3 separate regions of the Homo sapiens genome follow, and regions 1 and 3 are each linked to region 2. Evidence: promoter capture Hi-C in 16 types of primary human blood cells and fetal thymus (Javierre and others, 2016). All regions are on one chromosome and are shown on one strand. Each heading gives the region's core, a stretch centred on a gene start or on the middle of the fragment in contact. The rest is flanking DNA. Distances are from core to core; before and after follow the strand shown.

Region 1 (3,180 bases), core at 539-3,038, 410 kb before region 2:
CCACTGTTATGCCTTTGAAGTCTATACTTTTAGCTTTTTCTTTGCATATTAATATATAAATATACATTTTTTTTACAAAAATGGGATACAATATATACCATTTGAAAATTGCTTTTTTCGTTTCACAATATATAATGTACATCTTTCATGCAAATGTGTAGGGCTCATGACTGAAAGAGGGAAACTTGTAGATTTTAGGGGGAAACCTCAACTTTAAGCGAGTTACATGCTAAACATCTAAAATAAAGCCTCACAAAAAGTTAAAATTCAGAATATGGGAAAAGGCATTAAGAAAATGCAAACAGAAAGTCCAGGTGGCAATGGCAATACTATTAGCAGGCAAAACAGAATTAAAGGCCGAACACATTAAATAGGATAAGGACGGCTCCGTTTTGCCTTCCAGTGCATTATCATCAGTTTGTTTCTTACTCTTTTCATCTCTTCTAGCTCATCTGCTGCCTGTATCATCTCCTCATTGCTTAAATTTCTGCCATGTATGTCCCCTCTAAATTGCGGGCGAGAACGAGCCAACCTTTCTTTAAAGCTTCCTTCTTCAAGCTTATGTTTTCCTACTCCACAAGGAGGCTGCTCCATGGGAGGGCGCCCCTCAAACAGGTCCTTCCTGGAAAGACCCTCCTGCGGAGGGCGCTCCTCCGAGAGGAGCATCTCAGGCAGGAGCTCAGGCAAGAGCTCCTCAGGAAAGAACTCCTCCTCCGAGGACTGCTCCTCCGAAGACTGCTCCTCGGGGGACTGCTTTTCGGGAGAGTGCTCCACCGGAGGCCTCTCCTCATCGGTCTTGGGCGCGCTCTGCGGCTCTTCTTCATTTTCTTTGCGTGGTTTGTCCATGTTGGGAATTTTCTTCTTCAAGCACAGTTATTCTTAGGAGACAAGAAAGGCAGAATAGAGTCAGAATACTAAGCGGCTGGACTAACACCCAGGCCGTGGGTTCCAATACCTGCCTTTTCCTGATTCGGGGGCCAGGTCCTCAACCTTGCGCTTTCCCAGAGGCTCTCCGGCTCTCCCGACTCCGCCGCTTCCCGGTCGCCCCCTCCTTCCCGAAAGCCCACCATTTTCCCAGCAGGCTTTGCTACAGGCCTCGCCCGCAGTGACAGGGGCGGGACAGTGCGGCCTGCAGACTCCATGCCTTTCGGCGTCCACCCTCGCGCCCCAGTCCCGGCCCACTGCGTACCCCTTCCCTGACCTGGACCTTTCCGGGCCGTGTGCTCCTAGTCGTCCTCTCCTCGAGGTGCCCCGCTGTGACCAGCAGACCTGCACACAGACGCAAGACAGGGTAGGGGGCGGGGAGTGGGGAGGAGGGACGGACTGACTGACACCCCCCACCCCCCACTTTCTGGGCACCAGCCACTGCCTGCACGCTCCCCTAGCTCTCGGGTTCTCTTTTCGTCTCAGCCCCTGCGTCAAGCTTCGTCCTCCGTGCTCCCACCTCCCCACCCCGCAAAGCTTGCCATTTCTTTTCAGATGAGAAGTGGAAGCGAAGCATTTTTAGAAACTATTTCCAAATGTCTGTACCCCCCTCCCGGGGGACGGGGGAGGTACTCGCCTCCCCACCCCGCCCCAAAGACCACCATATTTTGCACAGAAATGTGGGCGCGGGGGGCGGGGCTGGAGCTTAGGGAAAGGCCTGGACTCCGCCATCCCGATTCTGTCAACCCCATTCCCCGGGTTACTAGGCAGCGCCGACACTCACACCGATTTAAGAGGGTAGAGGGAACTTACTTCTTCTGCTTTCCCTCTCGACCAAAGGGTAATAGGGAGATGGTGGACAGGCAAAAAAAAGACCGGGACGAGAGGGACTTGGGCACATAGAGGCTCCTGGTCACGTGAGGGACGCGCGTCACTGCCGAACTCAGATCCCCAGTTACCACTTTGATCTGCGGCCCTGCCGCAGCCACCTGCTAGTGCCTGCTAGTGTTCTCTGACCCGAGACACACCAGGCATTGTCACTCACCTCTCTTTGTATTTGCCTTTTCCTGGTTGCCAGAGACGGTCCGCATCTAGTCTCGGGTAGTATTGCCTCTTCCTCTGTGCTACTTCCCCTAGTACCACCTCTTTCTCCCCTCCTCCCTTCCTTAGCCACCAAGGCCCCTTATTTCCCCTGCAGTTCAGATCCTGCACTGACGTTTGACTGTTCACCTTCATAAATCAGTATTATATCCTTATATCCCAACACTCTCAGTTTTAATCCACATCCGTATCTCCATCATGTCCATTTAGGCTCATTCAGCATGTTTCATCTCTTGTCACTTTCATGGGAGACAATCTTTCACTTTTTCTTGACATCACATTTTGTTTTTTTGAGCCCCCAGATCTAAATTGGTAATCATTCAGTTCGAGACCTGTAGAAAGAGTTGAGTTTGTAAAGTTTGTAGATCTAAAAAGAATGAATACTTTGATTTTCATAAATCAAATACGTATTTGTCCATCTAAGTACAAACAGTCCAGAACACTTATTATCTGAAATGGGATAGTCCTTGGTGGAGAGCTTGGCATTATTCTCTCTATGTGTGTATATATATACACACATATATATGCGTGTATATATATACACGCATATATATGCATGTATACACACTGAATAGATTATAAAATATATTTATATACATGTGTACATATATATAAATTATTCAGTAGTTATTCATAATAGAATAAATAGATTTTACTGGGACTCTCAATCCTTAACCAGCCACCTCTTGGTGCTTCTGGTTGAGGAAGTTTATATTAATTCACTAAATCAACAAATATTTGAGTTCTGGGACTGCTGGACCCCAAAAGATAGATGCAGCAGGGAGGGCATTCCATATTAAACTATGCAATAATTCTGTTGACCACATACTGAATAGCAGGACTACAATTATGCTAGCATTTTCAATTGTCATTGCAATATGTATTTTTTTTTATCTAACAGTATTTTATGATCTTTAACCTTATGCCTGCCTCTCATCTACTCACATCAGCCTGGATGCTACTTTCTTATGCAGATGCTCTTTCCCCTACAGAGCATACTACTTCCCTTCCCTCTGTGTTTTACACTTTCAGGGTAGATGACCATCTGATCTGTGAGGATCCTGGGATTTTGTTTTAAAGCCAGGCTGTTTAGTAAGTTTCTGAACAGAAATTCATGTGAAATTTCCCCTTTTAAGAACTGTTTGTTGCTTTTCT
Region 2 (2,805 bases), core at 68-2,567:
TGATTTCCATCATCTGCCCTACAAACCTTTCTACATCATCTCTCGCTTCATTGTGCTCAATATGCCTATTAGGTATGGCCCATCGAAAATTAGGGACAAGTCGCCTAACTCGCCCCCGCCTGATATTTCCTCCAGGCTTCTGGCCTTCACCCCCTCCCAAATGGCGGGATTCTTCTTCATTCTGCGTGGGGGCCTGCTCCCCTCCTTCGTTTTCTTGTTGGGCATTTTCCCCGTTGAGATTGTTTGCCGCTAGTTCCTCTTTGGACTCCATTACTCCTAGGAGACAAGAGAGAGAAAATGGGCTGAATTCTTGGTGGACTGATAAGCACTGAGGACAGAGGCCCTACTAGGCACCTTTTAAAATTCAGAGCCCTGGACTTGACTTTATACTCTAACATTTCATTTTTTTCCACCTGAGAAGCCAGTATGCCCTGTGGGGTGCCCTCAATCCGAGCCCCTCCCTTCCGCAAAGCCCACCATTTTCCCTGTAGATCCATCTCCAGGCTTCCGCAGGCAGCAAAATGGAGGACGAGGATGGCGTGTGGGAAGGGGAGGGTTGCATGGGGTAGAGGGGGGCGAGGGTGAAGGCATGGATTAGGGTCTCAGACTGGGCTTTCCTCACGTTCCGGCCCCCGCCTCACCACCGACCCTCGCACCGACCTGGGCCTATCCTTGCAGTCTCCTCCTCCGGATTCTTGACGCGAGGTGCGCCGCCGCGACACTTAGCCCCGCAGACCTGCAGACTGCCGGGGTGGGGGAAGTGGGGGCTGCTGCAGCAGAACGCTAGCTAGGAACTACCGCCATCCGGCCCCTCCCCCGCCCCGCCCCGAGGCCCTGGCCCTGGCCCTGGCCCTGGCCCTCCTCGCCACCCTCGCCCCCCGCCTCAGCCGCCCCGCCCCGCAAGCTGACCACCATTTTCTGCACCAAGAAGTGCGGGGCAGGGGTGTCGGAAAAGCTTGCGCTGATGGCGTAGGCAGGTGTTTCCGAAGGGTCGTAGCCCCAGGACCGCCGGCTCCCTCCGGGCCGGGCACCTCTCCGCTCAAGGAAGGCTCGCGGGCCCGCCGCGGGGCCCGGGGGCTGCATCGCGGACCGATTGCTTCTCCGCACGGCTCCCCCGGGGTGGGCATCCGCAGGCCGGAGCCACTCCCTCACACCAACCCCAGGGACCCCCCGCCGGGTTCCTTACCTGCTCCCCCTCCGCTTCCTAATTTCGGGGCCGCCCCTGGCCCACACGTCCTCAGGGCCACCGGGAGCAGGTACCACCGCCGAGAATGGAACGAGCCACGACGGCTCTGACGCCAGAGCGAGACAACACTCAGTGTTGGCCGGTCACGTGGGGCTGTTGTCATCGCCAACGGCTCCGCCCCCGTCCCACGCCCCCTCCTGCAGCCCGGAGTCAGGCGGGGCTTTCGGGTCAGCCCCTATCCTCATCCGGAGTCTCTTTTAGTATCTCCAGACTGGCCGGCCCTTCCACTCTCCTGTCTTTGTGTATTCTTGGGACTTCCTCTGCCTCCCCAAGAGGGAAGCTGTCTTCTCAGGGAGCTGTTGGCCATTCCCACTTCTGTGGGGACTTGCCTCTCCCTGTCCTGGGCTCCCAGGATTTTCCCCACATCTCCCAACCAGGACGCGGGCGCAGAATTTAAAGGGGTGCAAAATTCCTCAGCAGTCAAGAAAAATAACATTTTAATGCAACATTTTAAAAAACAATTATTGCAAGAAAATTTATGATGAGCAAGATGTCAAAAATTTAAATAAAGAGAGCATCAGTCCCGCCCACCCCAATGGCAAACTGTGGTACTTGTTACCAATGCTCATCCTTTTCTCCACACCAGAACGTTTGGGGGGGGACAGGAAATGAGTCAAGGACAGTGGATTTTTTTTCTAATTCTTCTTAATACCTTTCTGTTCTGTTCCTTTTTTTGGGGGGTGGGGCAGAGTCTCGCTCTGTCGCCCAGGCTGGAGTGCAGTGGCGCGATCTCGGCTCACTGCAAGCTCCGCCTCCCGGGCTCACGCCATTCTCCTGCCTCAGCCTCCCGAGTAGCTGGGACTACAGGCGCCCGCCACCACGCCCGGCTAATTTTTTGTATTTTTAGTAGAGACGGGGTTTCACCGTGTTAGCCAGGATGGTCTGGATTTCCTGACCTCGTGATCCGCCCGCCTCGGCCTCCCAAAGTGCTGGGATTACAGGCGTGAGCGCCCGGCCCCTTTTTTGTTTAAGAAACAGTCTTTATAGTTTAACTTTATCTTAACTTTAATGGAAAATTTCGAACATTTGGAAAAATGGAATAGTATAATGCAAACCCCATGTACTAGTCCTCACTCAGATTCCACAGTTAACAACTCATGGCCAATCTTATTTCGTCTTTATCTTACCCGCTTCCCAACCTTAAAATTATTTCTGAAGCAAATTCTAGACATAATATCACTTTAGGCATAAATATTTCAAAGTATGTATCTACAAGATAAGGGTTTTCTTCTTTTTAGCATATAACCACAATACTGTTGTCACATTTAATAATTCACAATTCCTTAATATCATTTTATGTCTAATCTGTGTTCAAATACCCAATTGTATTATAGTTTTTTTTAACAGTTTGTTTGAATCAAGATACAAATAAGATATGCGCATTTTGATTGGTTGCCAAATTTCCTAAATTTCTTTTAATCTGTGGGTTTTCATTTTTTAATTTTTTCTTTAATTATTGATGAAATAGTCATTTGTTCTGTATTTTCCTACAGTCTGGATCTCAGTGGTGTCATTAACACATTATCTCTTTACTCTGTGGTTCCTATAAGATGGTAACT
Region 3 (2,812 bases), core at 192-2,691, 280 kb after region 2:
GTAGTAAAATAACATAGCAAAAACTTTATCAAATCCATTTCGTGCACAAACTGGACAGATCTGTTACGTATAATCTCTATATGCATCTGCAGTGTTTTATAAATTGGTGCTTTGACATCAAAAAGGAGGTTTACAAAAAGTCCCCTCTAGTAATATCAATGACTCGGAATGATCTCACTATCATTGCATCTCAAATTCCCTTGAATTTATACTCATCACTGTCATATCACCATTCTTACAAAAGCGGTTATTTTAAGGAAAAAGATGCAGTGTGATTATGATATAAGTAACATTCAAAATTTCATGTTATCAAGAGTTAAGCAGAGTACTAATTTCCCCTTTATAAACACATGCACATCCACGTAGAAATTCAAAGTCAAACTGCGTAAAGTGCTTTTATTGACAGAAGGCATCACACACATTCCCAAGCAGCATTGTTCCCATGAGAAACTGAAAACGTATTTCTTTGAATCTAGAATGCATCTTCCCTCTTCCAGGTGTAACCATTCAGAGTTTTTCCTGGAGCGATTCCAGCTTGTTTCCTTTTGGTGCCTTCCTTAAGAAATTTTGCAGCTGTTTCTGGTGCAGTTTTTGGGTGGGCTCTGGGGTGGGCAGACGATCTTCACTTTGCAGAGGCTGCTCCTTTTGTGAGTGGAGCTGGTGGTGAGGGAGTAGGAGAGGCCTCGCATCATCCTGGCATTCAGGCCCTTAGCCATGGAGAAGGACTTGAGGTGGCTTCTTAAGGCAATGGGGAGCGGGAGCTTGTCCACCAGATGCACAGGTGTGCAGGACACGATGGTGCGGCAGCAGAGGTCTTGCAAGCTCAGTACCTTGCTCGGCCTCCCGAGCCAGTTCAACCTGTGCCGCAGCAGCACTATCCTGGCCAGCTCCGTGAAAGACTCTATGATGTTGAAATTGCACAGAGGGCTGACCTCAAAGAAGGTCACGCCCAGGCGCTCGGCGTAGGCCTGGGCCTGCTCCCTGGGCACCTGCCTCTTGAATGCCAGATGTAGGCGATTCCCCACCAGGATTTTAGGGACACCAGGGGCATGTTCCTCAATCTTCTTAATCCATCGATCCATACCCTCGAAAGACCAGCGGTTTGCAATGTCGTAGACCAGGATCACTCCTTGTGCACCACGAGAGTAGGAGCGGAATATGGTACAAAATCTTCCCTGCCCCGACGTATCCCAGAGCTTCAGCTTCACCCGCTGGCCGTCCAGCAGGATGGTGGTCGTCTTGTAGTCGATTCCCCCCAGGTGACTGTACGGGGACTCGGCCGTGCCGTCCTGCAGGCTCTCCAGGATCTCACTCTTGCCTACGTCCCTGTCGCCCACCAGCAGGAACTTGAGCAGGAAGTCGTAGGCCTGGTCGGGGCTGCCCGGGGCGCTCATCGTGCTGGCCCCGCCCCCCGCCTGGGCCAGACCAGCAAGGTTGTGCGCAGAGGCGGTGCCGGGCCTATTTTTCTTGAGAAATTAGCATAGAACATAAAAAATGGGATGGGGAAGTCTACGAAATAAAGTGAAATGAGGTGGTGGCTTTGATGGTTTTCTTTTACAAACCCTGGGAAACCGGTTCAGCGATTGTTTTCCTTTTTCTTACCCAGCACAGAGTAGTGACACAGCAGTTAATTCATCATGGAAACCTATACATTTCCCTTAAAACTTTCATGTGATCGTTATGGAACCATGCCTTTTGGATTATGTCAAAGGAATCTCCTTTAAAGGAAGGACGGGTATGAGATAGGAAGCAGACTAAGATGTGTTGAGTACCGTATGTACCCTACGCTGTGTATGACGCTTAAAATAATTTGTTCTTTTACTTCTCAGAACAATTGTCTTTGGTAGCTATGATTGTTTTCATTTTACAAATGAGAAAAGGCAAACTCAGAAATGTTACGTAATTTTTAAAAATCTTGCCGTTAGTATAGAGATCACAGAAATCACAATCCTGAGCCAGTGCTCTCCTTATATAATGCCCCACACATCCTTTCTACTCTGTGGCCATGCCGGGTTTAGGAGTAAGTGTGAACTGTCTGTGCATGTGATCCTTGACAAGCCACGCATGTTTGCATGGGCACTAACACATTTTTTGCTGCAGGGGGACATCTCCCATAAATATAAGAGCCAAGATCTCAGAAGAAACATCTAGGATATGGATTTTTCTAGAGTGTCTCATAAATAATATTCAGCCAAGAAAGATGTGTTGAAATAACGCATGCATAGATCAATGAAGGGTTTTAGATTTAACACACGTACAGATCCTATAACAAAACAGCAAAACTGACAAAATATATAAATGGTTCATGGATGATGAAATGCAAATGGCCAATAATCATAAGAAAATGCATTCTAGCTCACTAATATATAAGGAATGCAAATGCAACTATCTAAATATACTTTTATCACCTATCGTTTGACAAAATTTCAATGTAGAAAAAACTGAATAAGAATTTTTTTTTAATTTGCAAAAGAAAAAGGTAAAAGTGGCTCTGTGTGTGTCTGTGTATGGGGGCAGGATGAGGGACCAAATACATCAAGGAAATGGAAACACACTTCTCAGTTATAAATGCATTTAAATATTGTAACTACAACAGGTATAAAGATGGTTAAAGGAATGAGAATGCTCAGACACATATAAGGGAGTTTAAATTATTGAAATCAAGCCCCAAGGGATAGATGTGTAAGCATGTAATGGATGAAACATTTTTCACATGTACAAAATAGCCAGGTAAGAGGTTATTTGCTACAGTATTGCTGAAATCTTTTTAAAAAGGAAAAAATGAGAAGCATTCTAAATACTCATCAATACA

What was found. Contacts are between HindIII fragments. The CHiCAGO score rates a contact against its expected background, and 5 or more counts as called.
Region 1: the fragment with the promoter of TCEAL1 here is called in contact with the fragment with the promoter of BEX4 in region 2 in 6 of 17 cell types (erythroblasts, fetal thymus, M0 macrophages and 3 more); the score reaches 10.1 in erythroblasts.
Region 3: the fragment with the promoter of RAB40AL here is called in contact with the fragment with the promoter of BEX4 in region 2 in 2 of 17 cell types (M0 macrophages and monocytes); the score reaches 6.4 in M0 macrophages.

What each region holds. Positions count from the first base shown.
Region 1 is chrX:103,627,583-103,630,762 of GRCh38, reverse strand. TCEAL1 (transcription elongation factor A like 1) reads right to left here and starts at 1,788. Exons shown (of 3, transcript NM_004780.3): 1 at 1,738-1,788; 2 at 1,190-1,269; 3 at 1-878. The coding sequence starts at 846. The coding sequence ends at 367. RefSeq lists enhancers at 834-903, 974-1,023, 928-1,222, 2,094-2,163. The HindIII fragment of the contact is 2,900 bases long and covers 1,464-3,180 here.
Region 2 is chrX:103,213,620-103,216,424 of GRCh38, reverse strand. It overlaps BEX4 (brain expressed X-linked 4), which reads right to left and starts at 1,317. Exons shown (of 3, transcript NM_001080425.4): 1 at 1,187-1,317; 2 at 661-743; 3 at 1-276. The coding sequence starts at 271. The HindIII fragment of the contact is 8,756 bases long and covers 958-2,805 here.
Region 3 is chrX:102,935,901-102,938,712 of GRCh38, reverse strand. It overlaps RAB40AL (RAB40A like), which reads right to left and starts at 1,441. Exons shown (of 1, transcript NM_001031834.1): 1 at 413-1,441. The coding sequence starts at 1,394. The coding sequence ends at 558. The region is part of intron 10 of LINC00630 (long intergenic non-protein coding RNA 630); the gene reads right to left. The HindIII fragment of the contact is 15,007 bases long and covers 1-2,812 here.